2 separate regions of the Homo sapiens genome follow, and region 2 is linked to region 1. The links are contacts of gene promoters, found by promoter capture Hi-C in human tissues and cell types (Jung and others, 2019). All regions are on one chromosome and are shown on one strand. Each heading gives the region's core, a stretch centred on a gene start or on the middle of the fragment in contact. The rest is flanking DNA. Distances are from core to core; before and after follow the strand shown. Region 1 holds the start of COA4 (cytochrome c oxidase assembly factor 4 homolog). Region 2 overlaps MRPL48 (mitochondrial ribosomal protein L48).

The links. Contacts are between HindIII fragments. The study calls those that stand out against the background at their distance.
Region 2: a contact is called between a fragment that was not itself captured here and the fragment with the promoter of COA4 in region 1, in 6 of the 25 tissues and cell types used here (H1 embryonic stem cells, bladder, mesenchymal stem cells and 3 more).

What each region holds. Positions count from the first base shown.
Region 1 is chr11:73,871,983-73,878,114 of GRCh38, forward strand. COA4 (cytochrome c oxidase assembly factor 4 homolog) reads right to left here and starts at 4,864. Exons shown (of 2, transcript NM_016565.3): 1 at 4,775-4,864; 2 at 685-1,412. The coding sequence starts at 1,396. The coding sequence ends at 1,133. It overlaps PAAF1 (proteasomal ATPase associated factor 1), which reads left to right and starts at 5,017. Exons shown (of 12, transcript NM_025155.3): 1 at 5,017-5,086. The coding sequence starts at 5,040. RefSeq lists enhancers at 5,115-5,164, 5,185-5,254. The HindIII fragment of the contact is 11,350 bases long and covers 1-6,132 here.
Region 2 is chr11:73,821,283-73,827,490 of GRCh38, forward strand. MRPL48 (mitochondrial ribosomal protein L48) reads left to right here. Exons shown (of 8, transcript NM_016055.6): 4 at 4,426-4,514. Among named protein-coding and RNA genes, the nearest start is that of MRPL48, 37 kb to the left of the region's middle. The HindIII fragment of the contact is 6,321 bases long and covers 1-4,657 here.

The sequences.
Region 1 (6,132 bases), core at 3,614-6,113:
CTGGCCAACATGGTGAAACCCCATTCTCTACTAAAAATACAAAAATTAGCCGGGTGTGGTGGTGCTTGCCTGTAGTCCCAGCTACTTGGGAGGCTGAGGCAGGGGGATCACTTGAATTTGGGAGGCAGAGGTTGCAGTGAGCCGAGACTGCGCTACTGCACGCCAGCCTGGGCAACAGAGCAAGACTCCATTTCAAAAAAAAAAAAAAGAATAGAATGGAAGAGTCGTTTTGTTGAAGAAAAATGAGAAATGATATGCAACTGTTTTGAATGGGAAAACACAACCTACTTAAAGGGGGAGTTATTATTCAGCTCCAGCAAATTGTTAAGAGGGAATAAAAATCAATGTTGACATCTTCTCCCCTTTTCAAAAGCTGAAAATCTGTATTTTAGTGTTAAATATACTCTAAAAATGTTAGCCCAACTTTGTGTTTGTTGGGTTGGGAGCAAGTTAAAGCCAGACTTGGTATCTGTTAATTCAACAGAATCTGGCATTTAATAGGTACTCAATGTTTGAATAATTAGCTGGGTGTGGTGATGCACACACCTGTGGTTCCAGCTACTTGAGAGGCTGAGGTGGGAGGATGGCCTGAGCCCACTGAGGATGCAGTGAGCCCTGACTCCACCACCACACTCCAGCCTGGGCAACAGAGACCCTGTCTCAAAAAAACAAAAGAAAAACATATTTGAATAAAAAGTTTCCCCATTTATTTTTCCTTCCACTAAACTGATTGAAACATCCAGAACAAGTGATGAAAGAGAAAGGCACTAATTAGGTAATCAATTTACCATTAGATTGTAAATTTAATTTAAAATAAAATGTCCCTAAAATCATCTCAGTACTTGGCACACTGACTTAAGATGTGGGGTGGGGGAGCATCCCTTAACACATTCTTTGTTTTCCTGGTAAATACTGGTGGAACAAGACAGCTGAGAATGTATGACATCTGACCATGAACATATGACAGCTGTTTGTGCCAGTCATGTCCAAACCCATGGCTCTCAACTCCAGATCCAAAAACTCTCCCCATGTTTTAGACCTCCCACACCAGCATTTAGGATTTCTTCCTCTATAATCTTGCTGGGTGCTGGTCTTGGCAGGGCCATCTACTGGGGATAGGTGGTTTGGGGTCTCAGTGGTGGGCACCGGCTTGTTCTTGCCTCCTCTGCAGCTCCTCTTGCCGCCTCGCCTGCTGTTCACTCATGCAATCCTTGAACGCCTGCACCTGTGGCTGGCATTGCCGCCAGTCCTGGTGCTGGGCCATGCACTCCTGCACTGCAAAGTGGGAGGCAGCACAGCCAGAGCGGGAGATCAGCTGGTCCAGCGGGTCCTCCTCCTCATCGTCTTTCTTCACCCGTTGGGTCCAGGTATGGCCTTGAGGGACTGAGGTTGACATCCTGGGGATGGGGAGTCTATAGAACATTAACAGGTTAGAGTAGGGATATAATATGTAAGGTTCCTAAATTATAAATAGCACTGACCAGACTGCACCATTTAGCCTGTTTAATGTGTCTGTCTCCCGTGGGAGACTCTAAGCTTGAAGACAGATGCTTGTTTTTTTTTTTTTTTTTTTGAGGGTGTCTTGCTTTGTTGCCCAGGCTCACTGTAGCCTCCATCTTTAGGGATCAAGCAATCCTTCCCCCTCAGTCCCTCCCTGGCCAGAGTAGCTGGGACTACAGGTGTGCATCACCACTCAGCTAATTTTTTTGATTCTTTAATAGAGACAAGGTTTTTCCATGTTGCTCAGCATGGTCTCAAACTCCTGGGCTCAAGTGATCCTCCTGCCTTAGCCACCCAAAATGCTGGGATTACAGGTGTGAGCCAACTGTGCCCGGCTGATGTTCGTCTTGATTTACCTTTGTGCCCCCAGCACTAGGCCTGGCTGAGAGCAGGCCTGAAAAGTGGTTTGAACTGAATGAGATAAACTGTGAGAATGCTTGACATAACATTCAATAAGCTCAGTGGATTTTGCTATTGGAATATGAATTAGGTGAAATGTCATCTTTTTAGATAAGCTATCTCTGATCTACCTAAAAAGAACTAAACTTTCAGCTAGGTACGATGGCTCACACCTGTAATCCTAGCATTATGGGAGGCTGAGGCAGGAAGATCCCTTGAGCCCAGGAATTTGAGACCAGCAGGGGTAATAGCAAGACCTCATCTCTACAAAAAAATTTAAAAATGGCTGGATACGGTGGCTCATGCCTATAATCCCAGCACTTTGGGAGACTGAGGCAGTCGGATCACCTGAGGTCGGGAGATCAAGATCAGCCTGACCAACATGGAGAAACCCGTCTCTACTAAAAATACAAAATTAGCAAGGTGTGGTGGCATATGCCTGTAATGCCAGCTACTCAGGAGGCTGAAGCAGGAGAGCCGAGGTTGAACTCGGGAGGCGGAGGTTGCGGAGAGCCGAGATCACACCATTGCACTCCAGCCTGGGCAATAAGAGCAAAACTCCATCTCAAAAAAAAAGAAAAAAGAAAAAAAATGTAAAAATTAGCTGGGCATAGTGGCACACACTTGTAGTCCCAGGTACTCAAGAGGCTGAAGAGGGAGAATCCTTTGAGCCCAGGAGTTCAAAGGCTGCAGTGAGCTATGATGGTGCCACTGTACTCCAGCTTAGGTGACATAGTGAGACCCTGTTTCAAATAAATAACCTTTCTTCTTTTATCCTACTAGCCTTATTCTATGCTGAAGAACAAAGTTTAAAAAGTGAAAGAGGCTGGGTGCAGTGGCTCACACATGTAATCCCAGCAATTTGGGAGCCCGAGGCAGATGGATCATAAGGTCAGAAGTTCAAGACCAGCCTGGCCGGGATGATGAAACCCCGTCTCTACTAAAAATACAAAAATTAGGCGGGCGTGATGGCAGGCACCTGTAATCCCAGCTACTCGGGAGGCTCAGGCAGGAGAATCGCTTTAACCCAAGGGGCGGAGGTTGTAGTGAGCCAAAGATCGTGCCACTGCACTCCAGCCTGGGTGACAGAGTGAGACTCCATCTCCAAAACAAACAAACAAACAAAGTGAAAGAGTGCCCAAATATGGGTAGGTTTTGACACATGGGAAGGATGGAAAGAGTTCACTGTGGCTGTAGCATACAGTATGCAGAAACCTGGCCTCTGGGTCTATAAGGTGAGATGGCTTTGTAAACTATACAAAAATGTGAGGTGTATTTATTTGCCCAAACTGTCTTGCCCGTCTGCATCAGAACACTCAGCAGAAAGCAGCATACAGAAGGAACTTAAGGTTTGAAGAGAAATGACTTCAGCCTTTGCAAAAATTTCACCATGATGGGCTGTAAAGCAACTAGGACTCCTTATTGCCTTAACTGTGTCTCTCATTCACTCAACAAATGATTAAGTACCTATCATGTACCAGGCACTATGCTAGTGCTGAGGATTCAAGACTGTCTAAGTCAGTTAAGTTCCTGGCTTCATGGAGTTTACAACCTAGACAAGGAAACAGGGCAGTTTACTACACAGTGTACAGATAGCAAAGACTGGGACCACAGTGGAGGGATGCCTAATCCAGACAAGGGCAGGAATAGGCAGGGAAGGCTTCCTAGAGGAAGTGATTTCCAAGCTGAAACTTGACAGATGGAACAGAAGTTAGCCAGAGATGGGAAAACTATTTTTGGTCAATGGAAGAGCAGGTGGTTGAGATAGAATCTGACACATGAGAGCAAAAAAAAAAAAAAGTTCAGTGATGGGAGAATACAGTGTGAGAATAAGACAATATTAAACTGGCGATATAAGTAAGTGATCATCACAAGGCTTTGTAGGACATAGTAGGGAGTTTAAGACTTTTTATTCTGAGGGCAATGGGGAATCACAAGAGGGAGTTAGGCACTTTACACAACTCATTTGCCTTGGAGGCGGTATAACTTAAGCAAGAGGGAGAAAATGGGCTTTGAAACAGACTTGGACCTAGCTTTGTCACTGCCTCATTTGGTGCCCTTGGACACATCATTTAATAACCTCTCTGGAAGCACAGAGATGAAGCCGGGTGCCATGGCTCACGCCTGTAATCCCAACACTGGGAGGCTGAGGCGGGAGGATGGTTTGCGCCCAGCCTGGGCAACACTGTGAGCCGTGATCACGCCACTGCATTCCAGCCTGGGTTACAGCGGGAGACCCTGTCTCAAAAAAAAAAAAAAAGAAAAAAAAAAAGGTAAGGTTTGTAAGGAGGCTGGTATGTCTAAAGAGTTCAATAAATGATAGTTTTCTCTTCCTAAATACACTGTTAACTCTTTAAATAGGGCCAGGAGCAAATAATTTAGAGAAAGAACAGTGGAATAGAAAGTGCCTTGATCCTAAACCAAGAGATCCGTGTTCAAATCCCAGCACTACGCCTTACTATGTAATCTTTTTCATTTTAGTTTTCCCATTAATAATATTTAATTCGCACAATTAGAATGAAGATTAATATAACGAATGAAAAGCGCTTGGGCTACTATAGGACTCAGTAAATGCTGCTGTACTCTCCTCTCACCACCTTTTGGCTTCAGTCTCCTCTGGAGTAAAATGACGACGACCCCTGCTCAGAGATCAGGGTAGGCTAGATGGTTGGCAGCTGGATCGTGGAGGCTGGCCTAAACAAGGAAGTCATGGAAAGGATCTTAAAGCAGAAAAATGCTGGCAGCCACGAGGCCTGAGGCGCCTCAGGCGTATCGAGGACTTTGAACTTTGAGGACGCATGCGCGCGCGCGGCCGCTGATCGCAGCCCCGTTGTGCCCGCAACGCCTCCTGAAGAACGCGGTACGCGATGCTCACCGAACAGGTGGGAGAAGAGGGCCCGAACGCACGCTCCTACGCGGCGGCTTGGGTTTCGCAGGCGGTTGGGGATCCTCTGTACATCCTTTCAGGAACCAGCCCCTCGTGGGGAGCGTGCACACGGAAGGGGCGGGGAATGTGAAAAAGTCACGTTTTCATTGGTGGCCTCTTGGTGTTGAGCCCACCTCTGTCCTCGCCGCACGCTTCTCGGGGACTCACTTCCGGGAAGGGGCGGAAGAGGTGGGCTGGTGGAGGCGGGGTCGAGATGGCGGCGCCTTTGAGGATTCAGAGCGACTGGGCGCAAGCCCTCAGGTGAATCCAGGCCCAGAACAGAGTCAGAGGAGGCGGGTAGTGGATGTTGCTTTGCGTCAAGGAGAGCCATGCCTGGTCCAGGATATCAATAGGGGTTACTTCGTCAATTGTCGAGGGATATGGAGGGAACAGGGTCCGGAAAAAGAAGTATCAAACCCGTATGGTCATTCTCTGAAAAGCTATCCCTAGGCCAAGGGAGCACATGAGCTGTGTGATCCCCGCGTCAGAACTAGTATCAGTGAGTTGGAGAAAGACAGGGATACTGGGAGGCAGGAAGGCTTTTGGCCAAGCAGTCATTTAGCAAATATTGATTAGTCGTCAGTTACTTCCAGAAGTCTCTGTACTCACCACCACTTTGTGTATGTGATGGAACCTTTGTATTCTCCTAGGCCCCTAATGCTATATTAGGCATACTGGACGATACTATTAAGGAAACTAATACTGTGTCCAGGCCCCATACTGGATGCTTGGTGGAGCTCAGATGTATACTCTAAATATAAGTGATGGTTCCTGCTCTTCAAGAAGCTGACATCCAGGCCAGGCGCAGTGGCTCATGCCTGTAATCCCAGCACTTTGGAAAACTGAGATTGGTGGATCAGTTGAGGTCAGAAGTTCGAGACCAGCCTGACCAACATGGTGAAACTCCGTCTCTACTAAAAATACAGAAATTAGTCGGGCTTGGTGGTGGGCGCCTATAATCCCAGCTACTCGGGAGGCTGAGGCAGGAGAATCGGTTGAACCCAGGAGGTGGAGGTTGCAGTGAGCCGAGATTGCACCACTGCACTCCAGCCTGGGTGACAGAGCGATACTCATCTCAAAAAAGAAGAAAAGCTGACGTCTTAATTAGGAATACACAGCAAACTATTCATTCATCTAACATTTATTGATCTTATACTATTCCAGTTATTTCTCTAGGCTTCAGGATGAATATAGCAGTGCTATATTTGGCAACTGCTACTACTAATAAGGGTTTTTCAAATTGAAACAATGGTGAAGATGAATGAAACATAGCCTTCTGCATTTAAGAAATTTACACCTTACTAAAT
Region 2 (6,208 bases), core at 247-2,746, 54 kb before region 1:
CCACACCTGGCCACAATTTGTAATCTTATATTTACTTTGTGACTATTAGTCTAATGATTCTGTCCTCCCACTAGACTATAATCTCCATAAGCAGAGTTTTGTTGGCCTTGTCCCCAACCCTTTGCACGGTGTCTGGGATATCATTAGTACTCAATAATTAAGCCCTTCCTAAGCCTTGCCTGTTTCTCTAAGCTCATCTCTTGCCACCCTGATCCTCTTGCTCTACTTTAAAATTATCTCTGGCTCTTTCTCTGCCTATACCGTGTTTTCTCCTAACTCCTACTTATCCTTCAAGTTTTACTTAAAAGCCACTCACTCTAAGAACCCTTTCCTGGCACTCAAGTTCATCTTAAGTGCCCCTCCCGTGTACAGTGCTTATCATAGACAGCCCTTATCACCTTGCATTGATATTAGTGTCTGTCTTCCTAGGTGGCAGGTTCTGTATTGCAGGGACTTAGTCTTTGTTCATTGTTGTAGCCCCAGCTTCTAGGGCAATGCGTGGTACCTATCAAGCCTGCCATGGATATTGGGTTGGTTGTACACTGCACAACTCTGGTGTGTGCCATTCATATGATTGTGCAGTATAATGGTTGCTGCCTACCCTAATAGGTAATAATAAATATTTGTTGAATGGATGATCATACTTTGGAGAGTTCAGTGCTTTTTAGGAGGTCTTATTTTGAGTCATAATAAAATCTTCGATGAGGTTGGTTTTCAAGGTCCTGGCCTGAGGATCACTGTGTACCCATCAAAGAGATTTGGATATCAGCTCCATGGGTGGGTCCTCAGGTTGGAGAGTCTAGAGCCCGAAGTTGCAAAAGGTCAAAGGTCTTAGATTCAGAGAGATGAAACTGGGGCAGCAGTCAGGAAGATACCTTGGTTATATTCTGTGCTCTTTGGGAACCTCTGGCCAAAAATACCTCCCTATTCCTTACACGGTAAACTCTTACTCTGCTTTCAAGAATGCAGCTGTTTCCTCATCTGAACCTATTCCCCTGCACCCTGCACCCCCACCCCAAAGGCAGAGTTAGTTTTTTCTTCCTCTGAGCACCTATGACATTGCTCACGTGTCCATTAAAGTACTTAGTACACCGTAAGGTGATTATCTGCTTTCCTATCTTCCTTTCATACTATACCTCGAGTATCTCAAGGGAAAGTAGCATATTTTATTTGTCTTTGTAACTGTCTCAGTGTCTATACAGTTATTGGCATGTAATTGTAAATGTGGATTAATGCATATCGTGGAAGGGATCCATGATATTTCTGGGTTGTCTTGATGAAATAGCGTGGATTGTAAATGTGGAGAAGTTCTCTGAAGCCAGTACTATCTCTGATAGGCCTCACACAGAGCAAACCTGCTTGGAAGCCCATTTTAGAAAACAGAGGCCTAAGAAAACTTTTACTTGATGTCACTTAGATCAGGAATCCCCAAACCCCAGGCCATGGACCAGTACGTGGTCTGTGACCTGTTAGGAACCAGGCCACACAGCAGGAAATGAGGGGCAGTTGAGCCAGGGAAGCTTCATCTGTATTTACAGCCCCTCCCAGCCACTCCCCATCACTCAAGCTATCACCTGAGCTCTGTCTCCTCTCAGATCAGCTGTGGCGTTAGATTCTCATAGGAGCATGAACTCTTTTGTGAACTGCACATATGAGGGATCCAGGTTGAGCACTACTCATTCTGAGAATCTAATGCCTGATGATCTGTCACTGTCTCCCATCACCCCCAGATGGGACTGTCTAGTTGCAGGAAAACAAGCTCAGGGCTTCCACTGATTCTACATTATGGTGAGTTGTACAATTATTTCATTATATATTACAATGTAATAATAATATAAATAACATGCACAATAAATGTAATATGCTTGAATCATCCCAAAACCACTTCCCCACTCCTCACATCTGTGGAAAAATTGTCTTCCATAAAATTGGTCCCTAGTGCCAAAAAGGTTGGGGACTGCTGACTTAGACTTCTTCACACCATCTTGTGTTTAATACCTCACAGAGTGGTGACCCTGAAGAAATGAGGGCAGGACCACAGCAGCTTGAAGATCCCTCTTCAAGGAAGGACTTGCTGCCCATATCTTGATGCCATATACACATACATATAGATACACACACATACACATGTTATCCTTTAACCCTCTTTATTATCCTCATTTATAAATAAAGAAGAAACAGTAGCTCAAAAAAATTTGGTGAAAGTAACCAGAAAGAAACAGGTGGGACTTCTATTTAAACTCAGGTCTATCTGACTGAACAGCCTGTGTCCATAACCACTAGGTTATAACACTTGATTTCTAGAATACAAAAATCTAGCTAGACCTGATCTGATTTCAGTTTCTTATCTCTACCCTATCTTTTCTTTTCTGTTTTTTTTTTTTTTTTTTTTTAATTTAGAGACAGGATCTTCTTATGTTGCCCGGGCTGAAGTGCAGCAGCTATTTGCACTACAACCTCAAACTCCTAGTCTCAAGCAATCCTCCTGCCTCAGCCTCCTGAGTAGCTGGGACTACAGACACATGCTACCACTATGGCTACCTGGGTCTACCACAATGTATATATATATAAAGACCCCCCTTTTTTTTTTTGAGACGGAGTCTGGGTCTGACACCCAGGCTGGAGTGCAGTGGCATGATCTTGGCTCACTGCAGCCTCCGCCTCCTGGGTTCAAGTGATTCTCCTGCCTTAGCCTCCTGAGTAACTGGGATTATATGCGTGCACCACCATGCCCAGCTAATTTTTGTATCTTTAGTAGAGATGGGGTTTCACCATGCTGGTCAGGCTGGTTTTGAACTCCTGACCTCGTGATCTACCTGCCTCGGCCTCCCAAAGTGCTGGGATTACAGCCATGAGCCACCGCACCTGGCCAAGACCCTATTTTTTTAATCCAGTAGTAGCATACCTACATACTGTTCTACACTTTTGGTTTTTGTTTTTGTTGTTGTTCACTTAACGATATTTGTTGGAGGCTGTTTTCAGATCAGCACAAATAAATCAAGTTAGATGTTTTGTAAAACTGTATGGCCGGGCGCGGTGGCTCACGCCTGCAATGCCAGTACTTTGGGTGGCCGAGGTGGGCGAATCATGAGGTCAGTTCGATACCAGCCTGACCAACATGGTGAAACCCCGACTCTACTGAAAATAGAAAAATTAGCCGGGTGTGGTGGCGCGTGCCTGTAATCCCAGCTACTCAGGAGGCTGAGGCAGGAGAATTGCTTGGACCTGGGAGGTGGAAGTTGCAGTGAGCTGAGATCGCACCACTGCACTCCAACCTGGGTTACAGAATGAGACTCTATCTCAAAAAAAAAAACAAAAAAACTTTATGGAATTCTATGCTCTTCCTCTTTGCTGGCTATTTTTGCTGCCTGTCTCTTTCTCTATATAGTCACAGTTAGAAAACTTCAAAAGGGAAGGCGAAAGGATTTTTTTTTCAAAAGAAAAAAAGAAAACCTCAAAAGGATTATTGCCTGTTGAGGAACAAGAAGAGATGAGAGCCCTCTGAGAATGTATTTTATCCCCTTACTGCCAGTGGCTTTATCAGGAGAGAATTTCTCAAAGAAAGATGAGTAGTGGGGATCGTGCATATTCTAGGAGCCAAAAGGAGAGAATAAGGGGACAAACTGAGAATCCGTCCAGGATCAAGAAATATCTATGGCTCCTTAAACCAACAAGAGGTCAGCTACCACCAAATCTTCCCAGTCCTGCAGTGGAGAATTTGTCCCCTCAAATCATCTGCTGTTCCCAGAGGAGCTTAGAAAGAGGTTTTAATATAGTTATTGTATGTTAAGGAAATTAGCATTTCTCTGTTACGTATGCTTTGTACTTTTTCTTGTCATCTAGTCCTTAACTTCATTTATTTATTTATTTTTTGTTGAACAGAAGTTTTAACTTTTTATATACTAAGTTTATTAATATTTGATTTCTAGATTTTGTTTCATGCTTAGAAAGATCTCCGAGATTACTTTTAAAAATCCTTACTGTTACCTTGTTTTTTATATATGTGTGTGTGTGTGTGTGTGTGTGTGTGTGTGTGTGTGTATACATATTTTTTTTTCTTTTTTAAATTTGTAGTCCAAGCTAGGTGTGGTGGCTCACACCTGTAATCCTGGCACCCTGGGAGGCTGAGGTGGGAGGAGCTGCAGACCAGCTTGGGCAACATAGCAAGACTCCAGCTCTACAAAAAATAAAAGACATTAGCTGGGCATGGTAGCACATGCCTGTAGTACTAGCTACTTGGGGTCGGCGGGGAGGGGGGTGTGGGCTGAGGCAGGAGACTGTCTTGTACCAGAAGTTCGAGGCTTCAATGAGCTATGAGATGGCATTACATCCCAGCTTGGGTGACAGAGCAAGACCCTGTCTCTTAAAAAACAACGATAATAGCAACAACAAAAAAACAGGTTTGTCTTATTTTCTCTCTTTTAGGTGGAATTCTACTAAGTATCAGTCGGCCCTACAAGACAAAGCCCACCCACGGCATTGGAAAGTACAAGCACTTAATTAAAGCAGAAGAGGTAACGGGCAGGGGGAGTCTTTTGGAAAAGGATAATGTGCAGCTTTTGCAAAAACCTGAAGATCAGATATGTATAGTTTTGATAATATTGGAGCTAGAAATGATAAAGTTGCCTCTCAATCCTTGCCAGTTATTAATTTGGAATTTCCAGACTGGAGATGTTTCTACCAACTTCCAATCTTATCCCTAGGCCAGGTTATAATAGTAAAAAGCAAATGGTTTTTATTTTTATTTTTTTTTGAGACAGGGTCTTGCTCTGTCACCTAGGCTGGAGTGCAGTGCATGATCACGGCTCACTGCAGCCTTGATCTCCTGGGCTCAAGTGATCCTCCCACCTGAGCCTCCCAAGTAGCTGGTACTACAGGTTCTTGCCACCATGCCCATCTAATTAAAAAAAATTTTTTTATAGAGACAGGGTCTTGCTGTATTGCCCAGGCTGGTCTCAAGCTCCTGGCCTCAAGTGATCCTCCTGCTTCAGCCTCCGGAAGCATAGGGATTACAGGCATGAGCCACCATGGCTGGCCTGATTTTATTATTTGTAATACTTAAAAAAAAATCTTCCTAGTAGTGTACTTATTTCAGTATGGACCTCATAATGGAAATGATAATTCAGTTTAGTTGAGTGAATGAGTTGTGGCAAGTAGAGGTAGACTGATATTTTCAGCCATATAACTGATACTTTTTTGTTTGTTAGTTTTTTTGAGATGGAGTCTCGCTCTGTTGCCCAGGCTGGAGTGCAGTGGCACGATCTCAGCTCACTGCAACCTTTGGCTCCCGGGTTCAAGCTGTTCTCATGCTTCAACCTCCCAAGTGGCAGGGATTATAGGCGTCCGCTGCCACACCTGGCTAATTTCTGTATTTCTAGTAGAGGTGGGGTTTTACCATGTTGACCAGCCCAGGTCTTGAACTCCTGACCCCAAGTGATCTGCCTGCCTTGACCTCTGAAAGTGCTGGGATAACTGATTCTTACTGTATTTTCTTTTTTTTTTTTTTTTTTTGAGATGGAGTTTCACTCTTATTGCTCAGGCTGGAGGGCAATGGTGCGATCTCGGCTCACTGCAACCTCCACCTCCTGGGTTCAAACGATTCTCCCGCCTCAGCCTCCCGAGTAGCTGGGATTACAGGCATGCGCCACCAAGCCTGGCTAATTTTGTATTTTTAGTAGAGACGGGATTTCTCCATGTTGGCCAGGCTGGTCTCAAACTCCCGACCTCAGGTGATCTGCCTGCCTCAGCCTCCCAAAGTGCTGGGATTACAGGCATGAGCCACCAAGCCTGGCCTCTTATTGTATTTTCAAATCTAAAATAGGCTGGGTGTGGTGGCTTACACCTGTAATCCCAGCAATTTGGGAAGCTGAGGCAGGCAGATCTCTTGAGGTTGAGTTCAAGACCAGCCTGACCAACATGGCAGGAACCCCGTCTCTACTAAAAATACAAAAATTAGCTGGGTATGGTGGCGCGTGCCTGTAATCCCAACTACTCGGAAGCCTGAGGCATGAGAATCACTTGATCCCAGGAGGTGGAGGTTGCAGTGAGCCGAGATCACGCCACTGTACTCTAGTCTGGGCAACAGAGTGAGACTCTGTCTCAAAAATAAATAGATAAATAAATTATGTGCTTCTTGAATCCTTTATCACAGGTAAGTGGATATTAGTTCTAAGCATTATGAAATTATTTAGCCCATTTCTTTGGCTCC